4 separate regions of the Homo sapiens genome follow, and all the other regions are linked to region 3. The links are contacts of gene promoters, found by promoter capture Hi-C in blood cells and fetal thymus (Javierre and others, 2016). All regions are on one chromosome and are shown on one strand. The core of a region is centred on a gene start or on the middle of the fragment in contact, and the rest is flanking DNA. Distances in the headings are between cores, read along the strand shown.

Region 1 (3,276 bases), core at 1-2,500, 400 kb after region 3:
GAGCAATTGGATTTTACTCTTCTGGATATTAGCTTGTGTGCTTCACTTTTATACTCCATTGCAGTTTCCTTCAGTGCCAGCTTTCCCCCTACAGACTAAAACAAAGGTCTTCCCCAAATTCCCTGCCTAAAGGAAAGGCAATCTGTAATACTCTTAATACTTTATTAACTTAAAACATCACTCTAATAAATATGTATTAACAAACATAATGCTTACCAGAAGATCTAAAAACATTTACCAACCTCATCAAAGTGAAAATACCACCTTTCCCCCCTCTATGGTACACATGGAGGGTCAAAGAGTTGAAGACAGAGCCTTCCTTCCCACATGCCTGCTAGCTCAGAAATCTTTAAAATATCAGCTTAACAATAAAAAACTGAATATACACACATATCTTTGAAGTAACTGTTCAGCTTTTTGTTTACACCTGATAAAATCCAAAAGGGTCAAAAGGGAAGGTTTACAATTCTGTGCTGTCTTCTCAGAATTCCCTCCAAGAGTAAGAACAGACCCAGCCACTTGGAGGTGCAACCGTTAGCTTTTGAGGAGCAGTCAGGGGTTGTGACTTCAGTCTCTCTTCCCCAATACCTAGCATGGTGCCTGGTACCTTGGTAGCCGGTGATCCATGAACATTTGCTGAGTGAATGAATGACATCTTGTCCACAGGCATTGCTTGTGCTTTTACCTCCAGTGATGAGGTTTTCACAGCCCTACTGAAGGGAGGACCTCTAATCCCCTCTCATTACCAACTTCTCTTCTGCTTCTTCTTGGGGGTAGCCTCGATGGTGCATCTCATGACTTCAAAGTATTAAATTCCTTCCCCAAGTCAGTTTCTGAATCAGTTTTTGAGGAGGAGAAATGATTCCTCCAAGATTTATAGGCAGCACCCAAAAGAAAGGAGTCAACAGACCCCCCAGAAGGAAAAAAATAAAAGTTAACACTCACTCTTCTTTCTAGATAAAAATATTAGCATTTGTCCACCTTGTAAATGGTGATTCCTCCTCTTCCACACAAATATCTGGGGTAGGTCAAGAGGGGGGAGGGAAGAAACCTGAAGGGCATTCCTGTCTGTAGATTAGGGCTGGAAATGGGAAGGACTGTGGGGTCTAAGATTTATTCTGGTCCCCATTTGACTTTGCCTTTGTCTTCAGGTGTAGAGGAGCCTATTTGTGTCCGAAGCCTAGAGAGTCACTTGGTTCTCACTCTCGGCTGCACTTTGAAAAGGTACCTCATTTCTTCTGGCAGCTCCAGGAGGTAAGGCGAAGGAGGAGCAACCTGGTAGGATCTGCAGACTGGACCTGGGGTCTGGAAAGTCAGAAGGGAGTGGAGGCAAGCAGGGAGCAGAGTGGTGGCAAGCAGGGAGGCTGCCCTCTGTAGTGTTGTGTAGCTGCTGCTTGCAGCCAGCCAGGGTGCTCATTTGAGCCCATGCTGCGTCTCCCGGTGCCTTCGGAGGTCCACCTTCCTCTGGAAACCCTTCCCACAGAGGTCGCAGCCGAAGGGCTTGAAGCCTGTGTGTTTGCGGCTGTGGGTGATGAGGTTGGAGCTCTGGCTGAATGCCTTGCCGCACACCTGGCACTTGTGAGGCTTCTCACCTGTGGGGATGGGAGGGGGAGGGGAGAAAGTATGAGTCTATGATAAAGCTAGAGGGGACCCACTGTGACCCACATGCTCTTGGCAGCAGCTGGTTGCACCACAGTCTAAGGCCTTCAAGCAACTTGGAGGGTGACGTGTTGCAACCTGAACTGACTCCCAGCCTGCAATGCGAGTCCCTGGAAGCACCATGGGGGCACCAGGTGAAAGGGAGACTTTCTGAAGGGGGGTTCCCAGCCAAAGGCCTCAAACGGTTTCCTGCTAAACGGAAACAGAGCAAAGGCCACGTGCCCTCCCCAGCTGAATCTACCCCGGGAGGACTCCCCTGACTTTATAAGCCATGAACACTCAGAGCAGATGTTCAACAGGAAGGGGAGGGGGAAGCTGTCCTAAAACCGTGTGACTCCGTTCTAATTCAGAGGAAGTTTTCAAATCTGAATTTCCAAGTGGGTGTTAGTTTGTATGGATCAGTGAGCCCGTCTTCTTTCTTGTTCTTGAAGGACAGCAGATTATATCTGAAAAAACATCTTAACATGGACTTTCTTTCTTTCTTTATTTCTCTCTCTCTCTCTCTTTCTTTCTAAGTTCCGGGGTACATGTGCAGGATACGTTTTTCAATATCTTATTTTAAAAATCCACATTTGGGCCACAAAGGATTAAGGCAGCTGATACTTTACTGTCTTGATTTTTCCTTAATTTTATGGGGTTAATCACATGATTCTTTATATACCAGCAATTCTTCACCACAAATTAATAAATAAGAGAACACAAGAAGGTTTTGTCTTGTTCCCCATCTCATGTGTTGTTGGGTAAATGGCATGAATTTCCAATAGCCCAGCATGGCATTATAGTCAGGGCTCAGCCTTGGAAAAAGTATAAAATAGATGAAGTTTGTTTTTGAGGAACCCTCTGTCCTCCTTGCTAAAAACTCTTTTCTGTTTTCATGCTTCAGATTTCCTTGATAAGAAACCACCCATCAAAATGTATTCTATCCCTTTAGGGTCAAACAAATCTGAGAAAACAAATTCTAGGTATAACGTAAATGTTTGATAAGGGCTTAATGTTTTATTCAGTCAAGATCCTAGTTGCATTTTGATAAGTGTCCTGAATACCTTACTTATAAGGAGTGAATTACATGGAAATTTCAGGTAAGAGGGAATGATTAAAGTAGAATACTTTTCTGGGTTTTCAATGGAAATATATACATTACCCAAGTATATTTATAAACATCAAGGGTGGGTGTTTAGAATACACTGTGATTTGTTCTAAATCAGTATTCATATTCTGCAATAAAATTTTCAGAAATTCTGGGTCTCATGTAAATGTCTTTTGACTATTAGAGTGTTCTTGGCATTAAAACTCCCACCCGCACATAAAGTGTTAGACAAACAGTCCAGGATTAAAAGCCAGAGCATTACATGGCTACATTATTCATTCAGTCTTACTTCTGATAAATCATTCACTCTTTCTGAGTTTCAGGATGGTAAGAGCAGCTCCTTCTACTTTCTTGAGTGGCAATAAGAATCAAATGAAATGATAGATTTGAAAGTACTTTGTAAATTATAAAGCATTATAATAGGTAAGGAATTATCATTATTATGGCATTAACTTGCAGATATTTTGAAAAGGGCAATAAGTGAACAGAAGCTTTCTGTCTACCAACCTCATGACTCTGAACATAAAATA
Region 2 (3,049 bases), core at 60-2,559, 510 kb after region 3:
AATCCCTAATGACTAGATAGCAAGCTAGGTAAAGCAGTCTATGTACGTATTTTCCTGACAATTAATATTAAGACAAGATACAATTACAGAAGATATTTTTTCAAATTAAAAATGCTTAAAATTGAGAAATGCCTTAAAGAAAAATGAAAAATATTTTAATATTTAGGTAAATTGCTCAAAACGAAAGCCATAAACGATTGTGCTTCAGGGGCAAAAAAAAAAAAAAAAAACTATTAACAAGTTAGCTCAGGAAACTGGAAAGTACAAACTAATCACAAAGCTTTATGATAAATTCCATCATTTAGTAATGTCATGGTAATTTCACATAATTAAAAAATATAATATTTTTAAGTTAATGGTAAAGGTTTTATCACTTCCTCTCCATCTCTGTCAAAACTACATACTGATCTGAGCACAGTGATTTAAACCTAGCACCCTCATTCTATGTCAGAACAGAATTTTGAGTGGGCGTTTTTAAGCCAAGAGTGGTTGGGGTATTGCCCATCTGAGGCATCCCTAGAGGTTATCTGTTGGGCAAACTAATCAAAATGGGTAAATGTTACTGGGTACCAGGAAAAAAACCAAAAGTTGGATTTGAGTAGACCTACACTCTTTTAAATGAAAAACTTTCCATTACTTGTAACAAAGTGGCGTTAATTTTATAGATGTGCTTAGCCCACAGAAGCTTTTAACATAGTTACAAAAATCAATATGCTTATCTTTATAATAACCAAAATACAAACTCAATCCCAGGTTAAATACTAGAAGGCTTGGGTTTAATTCTCACCTATTTTCCTTAACTAACTGAGGAAAAAATTGACTTTTCTATGTTTTGTTCTACTCCATGGAATTTAGAGATAGCTCCATTTAGTATTAATGTAAAAATAAAGTCTTCAAATAATAAATAGCATTTAGATGGTGGAAAACTCCAGTAATAAGAGGAAACTTAATTTTTTAACCTCATTTCCCTCCAAACTAAATACCATGAATTCTTACAAGTATTTTTTGAATCAGTTCAATTAAATCTTTTTAACAGCTTAAATGTCATCTAACTGATCACTCCCATGCTCAAAACCCTCCAATGATTTTCCATCTGAGTCGGGAAAGGTCAAAGTTTTAGGTCCTACATAATTGGCTCTATTTACCTCTCAGACTTCCTCTAATTCCCATGTCTCACTCCACCCAGACTCTACTTCAGACTTGCTCCTTATGTCAGGCCCTTTGCCTGTACTATTCTCCTAGTAAGTAGTTCTTCCCCCAAATCTTCATGCCTCATCTGATTCAAATGTTTGTTTAAATAAATATCCCCTTCTAATGAACCTTTATAAACCACATTGTGAAAATAGCAACAGTCCTCCATCCCTAATACCAATATCTTCTCATTCTCACATTTTTCTCCGTTGTCTTCCACTGTCTAAATTTCACACCATAAGATTTATTTTTTTCATCTAACTTCTCATTCTACCATAAAGCTCAATGAGGAAAGGGATTTTTGTATTTTGTTCACTAATCCAGGTAGTGTTTAGAATAGTGACAGGCACATAGTAAGTACCCCATAAATATCTACAAAATTGAAACCAATACTTCATTTAAATTAGAAACTTAATCTGTTCTTCACATGTGGGTTTTAAAATTAGAATAACATTTAAAGTCTAATTGATATTTCAAAAAATAAACTATTACATACAAATTATTTCAGTAAATAAACATATTTTGACTGTGGCTAGTATGCCGATATTGGAAATATAAAGTCAAATAATGGTCCTTACCCTCAATGAACTTCAGCTGCACATGGTGGACAGAAAAATTGAAAAGAATTAACTACAGTAGTGTGAGATGGTATAAGAAAGATCTCTAACAAAGGGTATTAGAAGAGCAGAGATACACGAAATCAGGTAAGATGGCATTAACAGGGAATGCTGATCACAACTGGTCAAGCTTAAGCTGACTTTTGGGGGTGGAGCCAATATGGCCGAATAGGAACACCTCCAGTCTACAGCTCCCAGCGTGAGTGATGCAGAAGATGAAAGATTCCTGCATTTCCAACTGAGGTACTGCGTTCATCTCACTGGGGATTGTCAGACAAGGGGTGCAGGACACTGGGTGCAGCACACCGAGCGTGAGCCGAAGTAGGACGAGGCATCACCTCACCAGGGAAGCACAAGGGGTCAGGGAATTCCCTTTCCTAGCCAAGGAAAGGGGTGACAGATGGCACGTGGAAAATCAAGTCACTCCCACCCCAATACTGCACTTTTCCAATGGTCTTAGCAAACAGCACACCAGGAGATTGTATCCTGTGCCTGGCTTGGAGGGTCCTACGCCCACAGAGTCTCGCTCATTGCTAGCACAGCAGTCTGAGATCAAACTGCAAGGCGGCAGCGAGGCTGGGGGAGGGGCGCCTGCCACTGCCGAGGCTTGAGTAGGTAAACAACACAGCCGAGAAGCTCCAACTGGGTGGAGCCCACTGCAGCTCAAGGAGGCCTGCCTGCCTCTGTAGACTCCACCTCTGGGGGCAGGGCATAGCCAAACAAAAGGCAGCAGAAACCTCCGCAGACTTAAATGTCCCTGTCTGACAGCTTTGAAGAGAGTAGCGGTTCTCCCAGCACGCAGCTTGAGATCTGAGAACCGACAGACTGCCTCCTCAAGTGGGGCCCTGACCCCTGAGTAGCCTAACTGAGAGGCACCCCCCCGTATGGGCAGACTGACACCTCACACGGCCGGGTACCCCTCTGAGACAAAGCTTCCAGAGGAACGATCAGGCAGCAACATTTGCTGTTCACCAATATCCGCTGTTCTGCAGCCTCCGCTGCTGATATACAGGCAAACAGGGTCTGGAGTGGACCTCCAGCAAACTCCAACAGACCTGCAGCTAACGGTCCTGACTGTTAGAAGGAAAACTAACAAACAGAAAGGACATCCACACCAAAACCCCATCTGTACGTCACCATCATCGAAGACCAAACGTAGATAAAACCACAAAGATGCGGAAAAAACAGAGCAGAAAAACTGAAAATTCTAAAAAGCAGAGCGCCTCTCCTCCTCTAAAGGA
Region 3 (3,302 bases), core at 381-2,880:
GTCATGTCATAGTCCTATTTTTAATTTTTTGAGGAACCTCCATACTGTTTTCCATAATGGCTGCACCAATTTACATTCCTACGAAAAGTATATGTAAATTGACTAAATTTGCCAGTCAAAATATAAATACTGCCTGGGTTATAATACACCATTATTATGGTGTAACACACCATATATTATAGTGTGATATATGACATTGTGTGACCTTGGCCAAGTTTACCTATCCTTTGTATGCCTCAGCTTCCTCATCTGTAAATAGGTCTGAAGACAGTACCTAGCTAAATGGTTGTTGTAAGGATTAACTGAGTTAAAACACACAGAGCAAATAGAGTAGCGTTTATCACATAATAAGGATTCAAATATAAGCTACTATTATGTTATCTTTGACACCCCTCGTTTCTACAGGAATAATTAAGAATCAATTATCCATCCAAGCATTTGGGAATTAATTTTAAAAAATCAATTATCCAGTTATATTTTTCAGAATTAAGATGTCTGAATATTTGAGAGGGGGCATTATCTGAAGAAATGGTTACCTCTTGGCCAATCTTATGGTACAAATACAAAGTCCATATATTCCCCTCCCCGCCTCCTTTTTTTTTTTTTTTGTTTGGTAGAGACAGGGTCTCCTTATGTTGCCCAGGCTGGTCTCTAATTCCTGGGCTCAAGTGATCCTCCCGCCTTGGCTTCCCAAAGTGCTGGGATTACAGGTGTGAGCCACCGCAACCTGGCCAATGTATTTTCCAAGCAATTACTATTCTTCACCTTGTGTGTAGAGTTTGTGAATGAAACAGATTTTTTTTTTTTTTTTTTTTTTTGAGACAGGGTCTTGCTGTGCTGTTCAGGCTGGAGTGCAGTGGTGCAATCATGGCTCACTGCAGCCTCGACCTCCCGGGCTCAAGCCATCATTCCGCCTCGCTTCCCAAGTAGATGGGACTTGCCCGGCCCGAAGCGGAACTACTGAGTTTCCTTATTTTGGAGGCAGTAATCAAATAAAAAATACCAAAACCTTAAATGATAATCAGTTTGCTACTTTATTTGGGACAAAAGAGAATTCTATATTTCATCCATCCATCACTTCACTGCTCAAAGACTTTGCCCCTTACCTATTTCTCCCTTCTTGGTCATAAATGTTAGGGCTTTATATGCAAAGCCCTGTGCTTTCTCCGATCAAGTCCAAAAGCTTGTATGAGCCACTCCTTGGATAAGAAGGGGATGGGGCCTTCTAGATGCTGTAAGTATCTCTTATATTGAACTCAGAATTGTTCTGACTGGCAGTTTATGAAGTTCTTCCCCTACTCCTCCCATCGCCAATTTTTCTTGCCCCAAACATTTATACCTCAGGGTTAAGAAGCCAGGTAAGTGAGGGGGTGTGACTCGCCCAGTCTTTCGTTGGAAAAAAGTGTAGACCTGTCAGGAAGACACAGCATAGAAAGGCTGCATGTGCTGATTTGAACTCGAGCCTCAGTAAAACATTGAAATGAATGAACACCAACCGGAAGGGAAAGAAGAGGGGAGGGGATAAGGAGCCTGAGGATTGGTTTGCCCCGCGGGATGGTCCGCGCCTGAGCCATGGGAGGCGGGGTGCCCGCCGGCAGAAGTAAACAGAGCGAGTACGCCTGCGCACGCTCTTCCTGGGTCAAGAGCCGGCTCGGTTCTGGGATTCTGAGGCTCCCCACCGCGGTCCGGCTTCTCTGGGAGACTGTCTACAAACCGACGAGAGGCGTCAACCTTTTACCCTAGGGGGCGGATTTGGGTAGGAGCCGAGCGTTCGGTCGGAAACGCCCCCTTCTTCCTCCTGGGCGGGGCAAGTGAGGCCAAGTACTGGGCCTCCAGGGCGTCGTACCTCTGTGAGACATGGCTCGCTGTGGGGAAGGCAGTGCGGCCCCCATGGTACTTCTGGGGTCCGCTGGAGTTTGCAGTAAGGGGTTGCAAAGGAAGGGGCCGTGTGAGCGGCGCCGGCTGAAGGCGACGGTGTCGGAGCAGCTCAGCCAGGATTTGCTCAGGTAGGAGGAGGCGGGAACTCTGGCTGCTTCAGTTCCTAAATCGCCCACCTCCGCCCCGAAGCTGAGGCTTCTTTCGGCTCTGCCTCCCCCTCCCTCAGCACTTGGTTCTCCTCGCCTCAGGCGACTGCGGGTCGTTAGCCAGTCTCCCCACTATTCCGAAAAGTGGCTTCGCTCGCCCTGAATAAACAATCCCGAGCACCTCGACACCATGTACCAGATTCAAAAGGAAAACAAAAAAAGCTTAGTCGTGTGCAGCACTAGTTTGCTAGAAATATCTCAACACAGGCACGCTTAGTTGTTTCCAATCACTAAGGTCGGGTGGATCCAGGTCCTGAAACTTACACAATTTTTAAAATAAGCTTATACTATTTTAAGAAAAATAATAAAATTAGGAAAACGATTATTTGAAATGAGGAAAGAACAATACTATAGTCTTGGAGGTCTCTTCTGAGGTCTCTTTAAACAATTTACCAGAAATGCTTCCTGATTGCGACCTGGATTCCTCTCTCCACCTAGAGCTCTCTGTAGCTCCCAGCAACTCTCAGCTCCTGTGAGGACCAAAGCAAATGGAGGGTCTTCCTGACATTTAACCTTTGTAAGCCTCATGGATATCCTTCTCGGGTTATTGGGAATCCAGCTAAAGTAATTTCAGCTTACAAAGAAATTGAAGCTTAGAAATATGACCTAGCTAATTTACATTTCCAGCAAGACATTGATTCTTAAACTTGGGTGGGCATCACTGAAATTTTCCATTTCTAACAAGGCCCCAAGTGATGCTAATGCTGCTGGCTAGGGTGACTATGAGAACCACTGAGGTAAACATAATTACTAATAATTAAAAGTTGTGCAGCATTCTACTTTTTTTTTTTTGGAGACGGAGTCTCGCTCTGTCGCCCAGGCTGGAGCGCCGTGGCGCGATCTCGGCTCACTGCAACCTCCACCTCCCGGGTTCAAGCCATTCTCCTGCCTCAACCTCCCGAGTAGCTGGGATTACAGGCACGCGCCACCACGCCCGGCTAATTTTTGTATTTTTAGTAGAGACGGGATTTCATCATGTTGGCCAGGCTAGTCACGAACTCGTGACCACAAGTGATCCGCCCGCCTCGGCCTCCCAAAATGCTGGGATTACAGGCGTGAGCCACTGCGCCCAGCCAGGATTCTACATTTTGAAGTGCTTTCTGTCAAAAACTCACCCATACTTAAGGCTCCGATAGCTATAAACAGAATTTATCAAAGTAAAAAAAAAATCCCTTTAATTTGGGACTATCTACTGGGGAAGCTACTTTGTCTCTACCA
Region 4 (2,972 bases), core at 381-2,880, 410 kb after region 3:
TATCAAAATAGAATTCCACTGACACCATAAGTCAGAATACGATTTAATGGTACCATCATTTGTGGGAAGTGGGTAATGTTTTTTGTACCAGCTCATGCAAAAATTGGGAAATTAAGTAAAGGAGAAACATGGAGATAAGTTAATAGAAGACTTAAGGTATAAGAACCAACTTTGTATTAATATTTTTTACTTTTCAAACATGAAGAAAAACATTTGCTTTTAATAAACATTTTGGGACTGATATATTTAAATCTCATTACATTTAAAAATATTATCTATTACTATAAAGTTTAAATTAGGCTTTTACATAAAGGATTTCAAACATCTGAAGAGGGAGGAGACTGTCAGCTTTGGTGTTCAGAGTTCAAATAAGAAAATTGTTAATCTCACCACATACGTATTTTTACATTGTTCCTAAGAATAGATTGAACGAAGTGTCATCTTACTGTGAGCTATGTGATATGACTCCTCATAGAAACACAGCCAGTGTGAACTTTTATAGGAAAAAAAAGGAGTATAGTTTGCTTTGTGAATGGAAAATCAAACGAGAGAAAATGCAAAAATTATCTTTCTTTTGAGTTTTTCACCATTTCCTCCAGTATGTTTGGTGATTAGTTCACCCTACCCCAGATGAAACACTTCACTTTAAAATAGTACAGCCTATATATTGTAAATTTTAAAAATTACTCACAAAACACAACTCCCTTAAAGGAAATATATGACCCCATATCTGGAGGTAAGGTGGGAGTTGAGGCTTCTGAAAATCTCTGGCCGCTGCTGTCTGCATGAGGCGGGGCTTGGAGGATCATCCCACATGAACAACCTCAGGCTCGCCCAAAGAGACAGACAGAAGGACAGCATGAACTGATGATAGGTAGATGCAGCCCACTGGATGTTCCACCTCAGCTGCTATCCTGGGCTTCATAGAAGAGAAAGAAATGCTGGGAGTTCTCCAAGGCAGGCATTCTGGTCATTTCTGTTTTATGGATAAGGACACCAGTGGTCCATACGTGGGAAAGGAAGGGAAAAAAAAAAGGGGGAGACACCAGTGGTTTAAGAAGCCCAGGTTCTGATAACTAGCAGCTTTCTTATTCCAACCAAATCTGTTGATTCCAAATATTGTTTCTTTCCACCAAATCACATTACTTGTTTCACATCCAGCATAGGGTAGAAAAGCCTGGAGCCAAAAGTCACGTGCCTGTCACAGACTTGAGAGGTAGTAAGGATGGGATGGTGGAGGAGAGACACATTCCCTCCTCTCCTGCTGCAAGGCCCAACCCATCACTCCCAACAGTGTGGACTTGGCAGGCATGCTGCTCATCCAAAGGTCAGAAAATAATAGTATTTAAGTTGCTGAAAGCAGCATAGTTATGTTAATTCAATAGAACATTTGTAAAGTAGACAAAATAAAAAGTAAAAATACAGCTCCATATCTCACTACCTTAGTTCAACCTCTAGTAATATTTCAGAGTGTTTTCCCCCCAGTCTTAAAAAAAGAGTCTACTATGATGATATTGTATAATTGTCCATTTAGATGATGTGCTGTGATCTTATTTATTATGTTACTGGACAGTTGGATTATTTCCCTTTTTCCCTACTATAAATGATGCTGTGATTTTTTTTTTAATTGTACCTGGGTTTTTCTATATGTAGGATTCTTTCTTTAGGATTCATAACCAGAAGTGATTCCCCTCCTGGATCAAAGGTTAGGAACCTCCTTTTTGTTGTGTTTTGTTTTTTATGTGTTTGTATGTTTGTTTTGTAGAGGTAGGCCCACTATGTTGCCCAAGCTGGTCTTGAACTCCTGGCCTCAAGGTGATCCTCCTGCCTTGGACTCCCAAACTGCTGGGATTACAGGTGTGAGCATCCATGCCCAGCTAAAGGCTAGGAACATTTTCAAGTCTATGGACACATATTGAGAAATTATTTTCCTGAATGATTGTAATAATTACACCCCTGCCAAGAAAAATTATAAATACCACAGTAGCTAAGAGGCAGAAGAGTGTAGCAATTAAGAGCATGGACTCTAAGCCAGATTTCTAATGTCTGGAAATTCTGGCTCTGCCTTCTTCTATCCTTAAACAAGTTCCTTAACCTCTCTGTACTTCAGTTTCTTCATCTGCAAACATGGTTACAATAACAACACCTACTTCATAGATTCTGGAACAGATTCAATGAGTTAATACATGTAAAGCATAGAGTAGGCATTTACTAAGTGTTAGTTATTGTCACTATTACAACAGGCACTATTGGCGGCCCTTTTTATGTACATTATCTCTAACCATCCCAATGAACAGGCTGTGGGAATAGACTCAGAGAGGCTTGCCTTCCCCAGATCACATAGCCAGAGAAGGACAGAGTCCTGATTCCAACGCAGGCCAGCCTGACTCCTGACCCTGGACTGCTGCAGGAGGTAGGCCTCAAGGCCTCCCATTGTAGGGGCAGTAGGTTTGTGCACTGCAGGCAGCCCCTGAGACTTGCCAGGAAGCATTTTTATGTGGATTTCTTTTTTTTTTTATTTTTTATTTTTTGAGACAGAGTCTCGCTCTGTCACCTAGGCTGGAGTGCAGTGGTGCGATCTTGGCTCACTGCAACCTCCGCCTCCTGGGTTCCAGCGATTGTCATGCCTTAGCCTCCTGAGTAGCTAGGATTACAGGCGCCTGCCACCACGTCCAGCTAATTTTTGTATTTTTAGTAGAGAGGGGGTTTCACCATGTTAGCCAGGCTGGTCTCGAACTCCTGACCTCAGGTGATCCATCCACCTCGGCCTCCCAAAGTGCTGGCATTACAGGCGTGAGCCACCATGACCGGCCATTTTTATATGGATTTCTGATATCCCAATTAGACCTGAGAGACTCAGGCTCCCTTCCTGAGCTCCTGGACCTTATCTCCCACAGGAGGCTTTCCAAGGATCACTTCCAACTGTCATGGTCTGTGTCCCCATAAAGCCAAGCAGTTCATCTGAGCTGAGG

What was found. The method cuts DNA at HindIII sites, captures the fragments that hold promoters and counts their contacts. A CHiCAGO score of 5 or more calls a contact.
Region 1: a fragment that was not itself captured here is called in contact with the fragment with the promoter of BTBD8 in region 3 in 1 of 17 cell types (fetal thymus); the score reaches 7.4 in fetal thymus.
Region 2: a fragment that was not itself captured here is called in contact with the fragment with the promoter of BTBD8 in region 3 in 1 of 17 cell types (naive CD4 T cells); the score reaches 6.9 in naive CD4 T cells.
Region 4: a fragment that was not itself captured here is called in contact with the fragment with the promoter of BTBD8 in region 3 in 1 of 17 cell types (fetal thymus); the score reaches 5.3 in fetal thymus.

What each region holds. Positions count from the first base shown.
Region 1 is chr1:92,474,616-92,477,891 of GRCh38, forward strand. It overlaps GFI1 (growth factor independent 1 transcriptional repressor), which reads right to left. Exons shown (of 7, transcript NM_005263.5): 7 at 1-1,592. The coding sequence ends at 1,414. Among named protein-coding and RNA genes, the nearest start is that of GFI1, 11 kb to the right of the region's middle. RefSeq lists an enhancer at 1,452-1,681. The HindIII fragment of the contact is 3,970 bases long and covers 1-3,235 here.
Region 2 is chr1:92,587,177-92,590,225 of GRCh38, forward strand. All of the region lies in intron 18 of EVI5 (ecotropic viral integration site 5), which reads right to left. Among named protein-coding and RNA genes, the nearest start is that of GFI1, 100 kb to the left of the region's middle. The HindIII fragment of the contact is 1,253 bases long and covers 684-1,936 here.
Region 3 is chr1:92,078,715-92,082,016 of GRCh38, forward strand. BTBD8 (BTB domain containing 8) reads left to right here and starts at 1,631. Exons shown (of 18, transcript NM_001376131.1): 1 at 1,631-2,006. The coding sequence starts at 1,858. RefSeq lists an enhancer at 2,904-3,302. The HindIII fragment of the contact is 1,063 bases long and covers 1,182-2,244 here.
Region 4 is chr1:92,490,956-92,493,927 of GRCh38, forward strand. No RefSeq gene overlaps it. Among named protein-coding and RNA genes, the nearest start is that of GFI1, 5.5 kb to the left of the region's middle. The HindIII fragment of the contact is 6,595 bases long and covers 1-2,972 here.